Regions from separate parts of the Homo sapiens genome. Here region 1 is linked to region 2. The links are contacts of gene promoters, found by promoter capture Hi-C in blood cells and fetal thymus (Javierre and others, 2016). All regions are on one chromosome and are shown on one strand. The core of a region is centred on a gene start or on the middle of the fragment in contact, and the rest is flanking DNA. Distances in the headings are between cores, read along the strand shown. Region 1 holds the start of MOB1B (MOB kinase activator 1B). Region 2 holds the start of ENAM (enamelin).

What was found. Contacts are between HindIII fragments. The CHiCAGO score rates a contact against its expected background, and 5 or more counts as called.
Region 1: the fragment with the promoter of MOB1B here is called in contact with the fragment with the promoter of ENAM in region 2 in 13 of 17 cell types (fetal thymus, total B cells, non-activated CD4 T cells and 10 more); the score reaches 15.2 in fetal thymus.

The regions. Positions count from the first base shown.
Region 1 is chr4:70,900,243-70,905,613 of GRCh38, forward strand. It overlaps MOB1B (MOB kinase activator 1B), which reads left to right and starts at 2,127. Exons shown (of 6, transcript NM_173468.4): 1 at 2,127-2,308. The coding sequence starts at 2,295. LOC124900711 (a long non-coding RNA gene) reads right to left here and starts at 1,989. Exons shown (of 2, transcript XR_007058132.1): 1 at 1,707-1,989. RefSeq lists silencers at 1,947-2,096, 2,407-2,456. The HindIII fragment of the contact is 2,463 bases long and covers 1,628-4,090 here.
Region 2 is chr4:70,625,464-70,631,078 of GRCh38, forward strand. It overlaps ENAM (enamelin), which reads left to right and starts at 3,281. Exons shown (of 9, transcript NM_031889.3): 1 at 3,281-3,501; 2 at 3,978-4,091. The coding sequence starts at 4,038. The HindIII fragment of the contact is 672 bases long and covers 3,260-3,931 here.

The DNA of each region.
Region 1 (5,371 bases), core at 877-3,376, 270 kb after region 2:
AAATCAGGGAGCAGTTTGGAAATGTGTGCCAGTCATTTGAAGGATGCCCCTGGCAGGAGAGAACTTTAGAACTGGAAGATATTTTAGAGATCATGTAATGATAGAAGGCTCCCATTTTAAATGGGCTAAAACTGAGGCTATGACAGGTCAACTCACTCTTTCCAAAGATAATCAGTAATCTGGTAATGCAAGTCTTACTTTCAGAAGACCCTTACAAGAATCATACAGGGCTGGGCGTGGTGGCTCACGCCTGTAATTCCAGCATATTGGGAGGCCAAGGCAGGCAGATCACGAGGTCAGGAGTTTGAGACCAGCCTGGCCAACATAGTAAAACCCCGTCTCTACTAAAAATTCAAAAATTAGCCAGGTGTGGTGGCACAGGCCTGTAATCCCAGCTACTTAGGAGGCTGAGGCAGAATTGTTTGAACCCAGGAGGCAGAAGTTGCAGTGAGCCTAGTCCAGAAGTTGCACCACTGGACTCCAGCCTGGGTGACAGAGTGAGACTCCGTCTCAAAAAAAAAAAAAAAAAAAAGAATTATACAGTAAGTCAGTACCATATCAATATTTGGAGCACAGGGTTTTATACCATAAATCTATTATTTTCATTCAGATAAATCCTCCTCTTTCTTCTTTTTGGGGAATCTTTTAAAAAATTTTTAATTTAATTTGAAGTTCCAGGATACATGTGCAGGACGTGCAGGTTTGTTACATAGGTAAACGTGTGTGCCATGGTGGTGTGCTGAACCTATCAACTTATCACCTAGGTATTAAGCTCTGCATGCATTAGCTATTTATCCTGATCTGGTAATCTTTTGAGTCTGTAAGTTTTCTCATTCCAGTAACCTCTGCTGTTCCTGAGATAGTGCAAGATTCTAGTATTTTCTTCTATTAAAAAATTTTTTTTTTGAGACGGAGTCTAACTCTGTCACCCAGGCTGGAGTGTAGTGGCATGATCTTGGCTCACTGCAACCTCTGCTTCCTGGGTTGGAGCAATTCTCCTGCCTCAGCCTCCCGAGTAGCTGGGATTACAAGTGTGTGCCACCATGCCCGGCTAATTTTTGTATTTTTAGTAGAGACGGGGTTTGGCCATGGTCTTGAACTTTGGCTGGTCTTGAACTCCTGACCTCAGGTGATCCACCCACCTCGGCCTCCCAGAGTGCTGGGATTACAGGCATGAGCCACTGCGCCCGGCCTAAAACGTTTTTTTTTTTTTTTTTTTTTTTTTTTTTTTTTTTTTTTACCACTTTACCAACGTGCCAAATAATAGTGCATATATGCAGTATAATACATTTCATATCTGCACCTACTTCAAAGTGTATTCTGCCCTTTGGGATAAGCCAAAGGTGAGCTAATATCTGCACATGATTTGTTTTGCTCAGATTCTCTTTGAAAACTTGTAGATTTGATGGGTGTTGTGAGTAAAGAAGACGGACATCTCTTCGATACCCGTATTTCCCTCCTAAATTGGTAATGCTGTGGTGACATATTCAAGGTATGTGAAGGATTCTTAAACAGAATATAAAGGCTTGCCCTGGGCCCCATAACCCTGTGAGAATAAAAGTCCCTTTGTAAGTGGGTCTGAATAGCTTCTAGCTTCTAGGATGTTCTGTGCATTAGAATGCTTACAAGCTTTGGCCCCCTAAGTGGTTACACCGATGACCACCCTATCATGCTGGGTTCCGTGGTGAACTGAGAGATGCCATTACCTTTCACCGCCCTTGGCCGGACACTCACGGTGGGCCTAACTCCGGTGGTAATTCCATCCCTCACTGCGGGACCTTGACATCCCCGAGCTGAAGCCCACTTCCTCCCTGACCTCTGGAGCCCAGCTGAGCGGCTCCGAGAGCTCTGCCATGACTCCTAACCGGGTGGACAGGGGGGCCGGGCAGCCGCGGCGCACACGCTGGGCGTCGTCCCTAGCAGCAGAGGAGACCAGAAGGTGAGAGTCCCCATGCCGCAGCCGGAGGGCCGGGGTGGGCTTGCACCGCTATCGCGAGAGCTCGTGAGGTGGGGGCGGCGGGGAGCTGGGGAGGGGCTCGCGGAGAGCCTGCCCCGCCTCCCTTTCCTTCCCCTCCCCTGGAGTGATTCAAGACGAGCGCTACCCACTTCCGCCCCCTCCCCCTGCCATTGGAACTAGCTGAGCCGAACTAGTTGCGGCCACCGAGCAGCCGGCTCTCGGCACCTCCTCCTCCGCCTCCCTGTCTCCTGTTCCATTCGCCTTTCCTCTTCTTTCCTGGCCCACGCCGCTCCGAGGCCTCGCGACCGCCGAGCCTGCAGCCTGCCCCGCGGCCAACATGAGCTTCTTGTTGTGAGTAGCCAGGCCCCGCACGCGCCGGCTTTGTTCGGGTGGACCTGGGCCCCCGCCCGCCGCCCGCCGCCCGTCGCCCGCCCTCGTCCCGACCCTCCTGGCCCAGCGCTCCCGGGGCCCGGCGTCACCACCAAGCGGGGCCCCGGGACTGCGCGGAGCGCTCGGACTACCTAACCGCCGCCTCCCCATAGGGCTTCGAGTACTCGTGGGCTCCTGCAGCCCTGAGGAGGTTCTTCCCCCCCGGCACACCCCGGGGCCAGCGCCTGGATTCCTTCATCACCCCCGTCTCTGCCTTCGCTCGCATTCCCGGGCTTGTTTGTGCGCTTCTCGTGGGTATCTCCCACTCGCCTGCACAATCCGTATCCAAGCGGTGCTCGGTTGAATGGCTCCGTCGCGGCTGCCCATTGCTCTTTTCTGGGTCCCAAGCACAGAAGATAAGACTGTCGTACTTTCCCCTGTCATCCCAGGACCCTTTTAACTTCCTCTCTCGTCTTAGGGCTGGGAAGTTGGGATGACAAGTTCTGTAGATGTAACACTGAAACAAGGCTACTTGCGGGTCGGGATCCCTTGGACACAGACGGGGGTCCCTGAGAAAGGGGTCTGGAGCCGCCCCCTTGCTTCCTAGAGGCGCCCTTCCTCCCAGAGGACTTCCCTGAAGAGGATGAGTTTTATCTTTTTAGACAACCAGCAAATAGGTTTTGGATAGTGTGCCCTGCCTAGGTTGATTAGGTCCACTGGGGAGTTGTTTTGAAAATCATTTGTAAATGCCAACTTTGGCGTCATGTTTAGTGCTGGTCATTATTTCACTTACTTATCGTTTGTTCCAGACGAGTGGAGGGGAACGTGGAGGGGGAAGGGCAGAAGGATGGGATGGCCAGATGTGGATATGGAGGCAGTAGATAAGCCTCAGGTCCTCTGAAAACAGGGGTTACAGCCTGAGGAATAACTCCTTTGAAGGCTTCGTTGTGATGCACTCATTCCATGTTTAGTCTGTGTTTAGAAAACTAATAAAAAACTTAGAAGTTGAAACTCACCCATATACTGTTTTACTGTTGTGGAGAAATTAGCATTTAAAGGATATTTTCTTAAGATTTCTCTTCTTTCCTTGCCTAATAATTTTTAGTCATTACATTGACGTCTGAATACTGAGAATTTAATTCACTCTTATTTTCACATGCTCACATCTAGAATTTTTTTTTTTAGGGTGTTTAAGCAAAACTGAACAAGGCTGACCTAGGGGCAGACTTGATATTTCCAATATGCATAGGGGACCTGGCTTGTGTCAACTTGCCTAAAACCTTTAAACGGAAAGGGATTTCTTAGGCTCCTCCTAGAAGTTGATTCTGAGTTTGTCGGATTGGCATAGGGCTAGATGACAGGACTGGGTGATTTTATAAAAAAGTCCTTGTTTCTTATTTTAGTTCTTTTTTTTTTTTTTTTTTTTTTTTGAGACGGAGTCTCCGCTCTGTCACCAGGCTGGAGTGTGTAGTGGCGTGATCTCGGCTCACTGCAACCTCTGCCTCCCGGGTTCAAGCGATTCTCCTGCCTCAGCCTCCTGAGTAGCTGGGACTACAGGCCCGCGCCACCACGCCTGGCTAATTTTTGTATTTTTAATAGAGATGGGGGTTTCACCATGTTGGCCAGGCTGGTCTCGAACTCCTGATTTCAAGTGATCTGCCTGCCTTGATCTCCCAAAGTGCTGGGATTACAGACGTGAGCCCACCGTGCCTGGGCAGTTTCTTGTTTTAGTTCTAATCACCATATTCAGGTATCTCAACTTGAAGCTTCTCATCTTGAGCTTAATTTTACATTGCTAATGTTTGATTGTTTTCAAGAATTTAGAAGCTGTATTCAAAATAGCACTGTAGATGATATCCATGACTACTGCTGATGGGCTTGTGTCTAGTAAGCTAAATTGGTTAAAGCAAGGCCAGTCGCGGTGGCTCATGCCTGTAATCCCAGCACTTTGGGAGGCCAAGACAGGCAGATCACCAGGTCAGGAGTTCGAGATCAGCCTGGCCAATATGGTGAAACCCCGTCTCTACTAAAAATACAAAAATTAGCTGGGCAAGGTGGCACGCACCTGTAGTCCCAGCTACTTGGGAGGCTGAGACGGGAGTATCACTTGAACCCGGGAGGTAGAGGTTGAAGTGAGACGAGATCGCGCCACTGCACTCCAGCCTGGGTGGCAGAGTGAGACTCTGTCTCAAAAAAAAAAAAAAAAAAGGTTAAAGCAGGGAAGAGCCATATTTGGCTGAAACTAGGGGATGGAGAAGTTTCTGATGCTATTTTTTGAATACAAATACAGTAGAATCCTATTTTTACATGGCTCAGTATTTAATAGATTCAGATTTGTGGTGGATTAGTTTGTTTCTCCTGAAGGTTAGTAACTACAAAAGAAATCTTGCTGTAACTAATGTATATAGAACTTTAGAGCATTTGCACTATTTGGGGCACAATTTTTCAGTTAGGTTATATCTATCTAGCAGTTGATATATTCTCAACATATTTAGCCCATGTGCTTGACAATCAGAAAAGTTAATTCAACATTTTCAGTTTTGGTCTTTGTCTACCGTCAATTAAAAATCCAAAGTGAACACCACATGGAAATGATTATTATTGGAAGTGAAAGAACAAAGCTTTGGTTATTTCTTCTATTTGTTATTTGGTATAACTGTCTGAATACTGTTTCTTTTTTTTTTTTTGGAGACAGGATCTCACTCTGTCGACCAGGATGGAGTGCAGTGGCATGACCACAGCTAACTGTAGCTTTGACTTCCCAGGCTCAGGTGATCCTTTCATCTCAAACCCCCTCCCCGCTACAAGTAGCTGGTACTACAGGTATGCTCCACTATGCCTAGCTAATTTTTTTTTTTTCGGTAGAGTCAGGGTTTTGCCATGTTGCCCAGGCTGGTCTCCTGGGCTCAAACAATCCACTCATCTTTGCCTTCCAAGATGCTGAGGTTACAGGTGTGAGCCATTACACCTGGCTATCTGAATACTATTTCTGTACCAACAGATGAGCAGAGAAGGAAAGCGTTACAGCTTAGGAGTTAAATACAA
Region 2 (5,615 bases), core at 2,031-4,530:
CCCAAGTAGCTGGGATTACAGGCACGTGCCACCAAGCCCAGCTAATTTTTGTATTTGTAGTAGAGACTGGGTTTCACCATGTTGGCCAGGATGGTCTTGATCTCCTGACCTCGTGATCTGCCTAACAAACCCATGAAAAGAATGTTGTCTCCCATTTACAAATGAGGAACTGAGGTTTAAAGAGGTTAAGTCATTTGACCAAAATTCTAAAACAAGTAAGTTGTAGAAATCAGAATTTGAACCCACCACTGAGTTCTAGCTCAGAAAATTTGCTATCGTAATATTCTGTGCAGGATGGGTGGGCACCCAAGTCAGGGCTTGCATGAAGAGAAAGCTCAGAAAATGTTTATGGAATAAAGCATTATCAGTCCTTTAATTTGTGAGGAATTAAACTGCGCCTCCTCTTCTCTTCTGATAGAAAGATCTCTCGCATTTACAGCCTGAGAACAGGCTATAGGAATGAATGGTTTCAGAAAGAATTCAAGGTTGTGGATGCTTAGACACTATTTGGCACCAGTAATGGATCCCTAAGACACTACTTTGTCTCAGGCGCTTCATTCAGTGATCCTGCAGTGTTGGAGTGTTCTGTTAATACTAATCCACAGAACTTTACCTTCATAGTTGTACTTGGAGGATCTATTTGCTCTGAGAACTATGAGAACTATGGCTGAATTTATTGTTCTTAAATCCTTAGTAAATCATTATAAGGTGTAATGTGGAACAATGAAGTACCTTTGTGTATTGATCAGTCAGTCACTGATAGTCGGCTACTAGGAGCCAGGCATTTCACTTTTTTTTTTTGAGACAGGGTCTCTCTCTGCCTCACCCAGGCTGGAGGGCAGCGGTGCGATCATAGCTCACTGCAACCTTGACCTCCTGGGCTCCTTGAGGAGCCCTCTTGTCCTCCCATCTCAGCCTCCCGAGTAGCTGGGACTACAGGCACACACCACTGTGGCTGGTTAATATATTTTTTTGTAGAGATGGAGTCCCACTTTGTGGCCCAAGCTATATTTATTACTTCATTCATTTCTTAGAGGAAACTTATGAGGAAGGTAATATTGCCCTCATTTTACTGAACAGGAAATTGAACAGCTGGATAATTTGTGGAAGGTTTAAACTTAGATCTGGCAATTTCAAAACCCAGCCTCTTTCCCTTACATCTAGAGTATGAAATCAAAAGACTTTTCTGCTCCTGCTGGCTTAAAATCTAGAGCAATGAGGGGACCTTAAAGAGTGGAGGCAAAGGAAGAAGTTCACAGGCCCCCTGGAGAATATGGGTTCTTTTTCAGGGGGAGAAAAAAATGGTACATTTACACACAAATGCACAAATTCTTATATGCAATTTCTTAGGTTTCAGCTCCCAGGTTAACACATCTTATTTTAAGACTGAGAAGGGTAATGTAGAGAAAAAAATCAAAGAGATACATTAAAAAAAAAAATTTAAGCCAAATCATAAACATGTTTCACAAACAGTTGTAATTGCCTGAAGGGAAAAATAATTTACAAAATAAATAGAGATAAAGTAAAGGGGGAAAAACTCATAAAGGACTGATTTCAAAACATTTTATAGGCTGGACACAGTGGCTCATGCCTGTAATCCCAGCTACATTAGAGGCTGAGGCAGGAGAATCACTTGAACCCAGGAGACAGAGGTTTCAGTGAGCCAAGATCGCGCCACTGCACCCCAGCCTGGGTGACAGAGCCAGACTCTGTCTCAAAAAAAAAAAAAAATTATAAAGTTTGAGCTTTTTTTTTTCCTTTAAATGAAAGGAAATTTGGTAATTCTCCCAATCCAATCCAACAGTACTAAGAATTCACTCATTCAATAGCTTGGCTGGATTTTAGAAACATGAATTATTTCATGACAACTAACCACCCTTGTGGCCAAGAGAACAAGGGTAAATAGAGGAAAGTGATCAAAAGTGAGGTTTAGTGGCAACTCCCAACAACCTATATGGGTAAGGCCAAAATCAAAAATTACCCTCTACATGAATGGGCACAGGATAGGCCAGGTCATCCAGCATCAGAACTCCCATTTCACTTCCAAGAACACACTGTAGGTCACTGTCCCGTAAGTGTCCTACCATTTGCAAATTCATCTCAATGTGCACACAATATGATAAATACTACTCAGTTTCTACAAAATCAGACAAAGGCAAGCAGGTACTTGAAGCAGATTTAACTTTGCACATCTTGGATACACATAGAGTTAAAAGATAGTCCTAGCTTCATTTAAAGTCAAATATTCTAGCACATTTTTATTATTTGTGGCACGAAATATGTGGAGCAGAGAGGCACTGAGAAATACAATGCTATTTGGCCCAAAAGGAATGACACAGCACTTCTCTGTCCTTGGAAGAACAGCACCATGGGCAACCACTGGATTAACTTATATACACAATCATACCAAGTAGGAACAGGTTTTGCCATCAAGTTCATTCATTCTTGGTTTTTAAATCCCAACATTAAAATAAGCAAACATTGCCACAACAAATGTTTTCTCTTGTGAAGCCATAAGAGAACAGGAGAATCCAAGTTAAGCAAAGATAGCAAAGCTTGCTCTTGTCAATTAAAAGTGCAATTGGCCTATCTATTTGAAAGTGAAATCTTTATTATGGAAAGTCAGATTTCAGGAAAAAAATCCATAACATAACTGTTTCATTAAATTACTCAGGTCCTATTTTCATTAAGTTGTATTATCATAATAGCTGAGAGTTCATTTGCCATTGTACCCAACTCATCTAAAATTCTGAATCCCCAGTGACTGGATTATATTTGACTTCAAAAAGAACACTATGTCCTGCTAGCCTTATGTAATACAAAGTAAATCAAGTCACTGAGTTTTCACCCATGGATATAACATTCCAGTTCATTTTAATTACATATAAAATGTATATTAAGTAAATATATATATTAGCCTGCCTTTTGATGAAGGCAACTGACTTATGACAATAGCATACAGTTAATATTCGCCTTTGTTCCTGAAATATCTTTGTTATAAACATAGTTTCTATACTTTGAAAGCCAAATTCACCAAGGGAAGCATCTTCTAAATCTTACTGCTGTAAGCTCATTTTCCTGGACTGTTATTATACGTAATAAGAGACTTGACTTGACAGCTCCTATAATAACACATTCTAAATTTTAAATTCGATGTGTGTTTTTTACCTTAAACTCTTGTGATGACAAAACCATTTTCCTCAAAGCTGATTGGTTATGCAGGTCTACAACAGTGCTTAAATGGAACCTTGCTGTGCCAAGCTTTCTGACAAGGAGGAATCTTTTTATTTTGAGCCTTTTTGATACTGAACATGATATCTGAGTGAAGAATTTTTGTTTTATTATTAAGAAATAAATGTATCTTGCTTCTTGAGATCTCCCTGGCTTCAGCAATTTGTAGTTATTTCCACTATAGACCATTAAGAATATATTTCAAAGGCAAGCTAACAAAGTTCAAGTAAAAATTATTTTTTATATATTACAGCTTCTAATTGGCATTGGGTGAGTATTAGAGATTATCAACATAAATTACATATAGTGTCAAATAATGAATTTAATTCATAGATGTTGGTTAATTCTCCTTATTGCATTCCTTCTTGTTGGTTGTATAATCATTGTATGCAGACTAATCTTCTGATAAAACTTTAAACTCCTTGGTTTATTTGGTGTATTTGTTTTTCTTGTAAGTTTTTTCCAGCCTTCTTAGACCTCCTTTACTACTGTGACTTTGTACATTTCCCCATAGTGAAGTCTAGTTTTGTCAACATCGCCCTAGAAGTATCTCAAAATACAGTGCCTGTGTCATTTCCTCTCTGATTTAGCTTTCATCCTACTTTTAAAGCAACAGAAGATTAAACTTGATTTTGTGGCCCCCTAATACAGGTATGACTGGATAAAATAATTAACATGACATGTGCTGCCTTAGAACTGAAGCTTTGCTATTCATTTCATTTATTTGTTCCATTTCTATATTTTAGTTTCTTCTCAGGTTAAAGCTGTATTTTTCTTAAAGGCTTATAAAAATTTTGCTGAAAAAAATGTTGGTGCTTCGGTGCAGGCTTGGAACCTCTTTTCCTAAACTAGATAACTTGGTGAGTACTTTCATTTATTTTTGCCAATACATACAGGTTCTCAAACTAGATACTGTCAGAAATACACTTGAGAGGGCCAAACACTACTGAAATGTATCAGAAGACTCAAAGAGCATCTGCTTTCACAGATGGAATGGAAGAAGAACTTACACAGTCATTGTACTTTGTGGCAATCATTATGAGTGTTACTTTCAACTCAAAAAATAACTAATTATAGACTTTAATCACTAACTTTTAGAGATGGAAGGGATCTCAGTCATCCAACATAATATATTAATTTTACAAAAGAGAAAATGAGTTTTCTATTTGCAAATATAAAGGCTACATATATTATCAAGAATCACTGTGACAGCTACTAGAGAGATGAGATGAATGATTAAGCAAGGCAGAAATTAACCATCCAAAAGCACCCTTAAATCTTGGGCCATAATCTTAGAAACATTTAGCAAAGAAAGCTTTCACCAGTATTCTCTTTATTAGTTTCCACATATTGTTGTAACCTATACTAAACACTCTAAAATAACATTCAGCTGTTATTTTCATTCTCTATGATGTTCTAACTCTGAAAATCTTTAAATAGTAGGAAAGGTATTTACATACTACTGCTTCCTTTGTTTAATTACATTCTGCCAATTTTTCTAATGTATGAAAGATAACTGATTACACCCACAATTTAGGAAAATGTCCATTATAAAAATGCTAAAGCGTCATTTATGTTGCTCCTATAGGAAGTAAACAGAAGGGTGAGCATTGGCTCCAATTATGCTAGATAGATTTTATGTCCAGAAAAGGAAGAAAGAATGAAAGGAATGAAAACAACTGAGTGTCTACATGTTGGTTACTCTGCTAGGAAATGGACTATATCTGATATACGATGAAAATGAATCATTCTGATTAAAACCTTTTATTTTCCTCTATTGTATATGCAAATAGAAAGTTTTCTTAAGAAATTACTCAAGTAAATGTTTCAGAATAAACCTTGTTCCAAGATGTAAATACGAGACTTAATTTTACAAGTCTTTCATAATTAACTAGAGTGGGATAAATGAATGAACCCCGTTAAAAACAATCTCCAAACTTCATACATAAGTCTATATGTTTAATCAAGGTATCTAATAAAGAGATAAATTTACTATTCTGCCTATTTCCTATTTCTTCCTATTTTCCTGACCATCTTAGAGCATAAGTGATTTTTTTTTTTTTTTGAGACAGAGTCTCACTCTGTCGCCCAGGCTGGAGTGCAATGGCACGATCTTGGCTCACTGCAACCTCCTCCTCCTGGGTTCAAGCGATTCTCCTGCCTCAGCCTCCCAAGTGGCTGGTATTACAGGTGTGAGACACCACACCCGGCTAATTTTTGTATTTTTAGTAGAGACAAGGTTTCACCATGTTGGCTCAGCTGGTCTCAAGCTCCTGTCCTCAGGGGATCCACCCACCTCAGCCTCCCAAAGTGATGGGATTAAGGCGTGAGCCACCGCGCCTGGCCACATAAGTGATTTTTAAAGGAAGTGATGATGATGATAA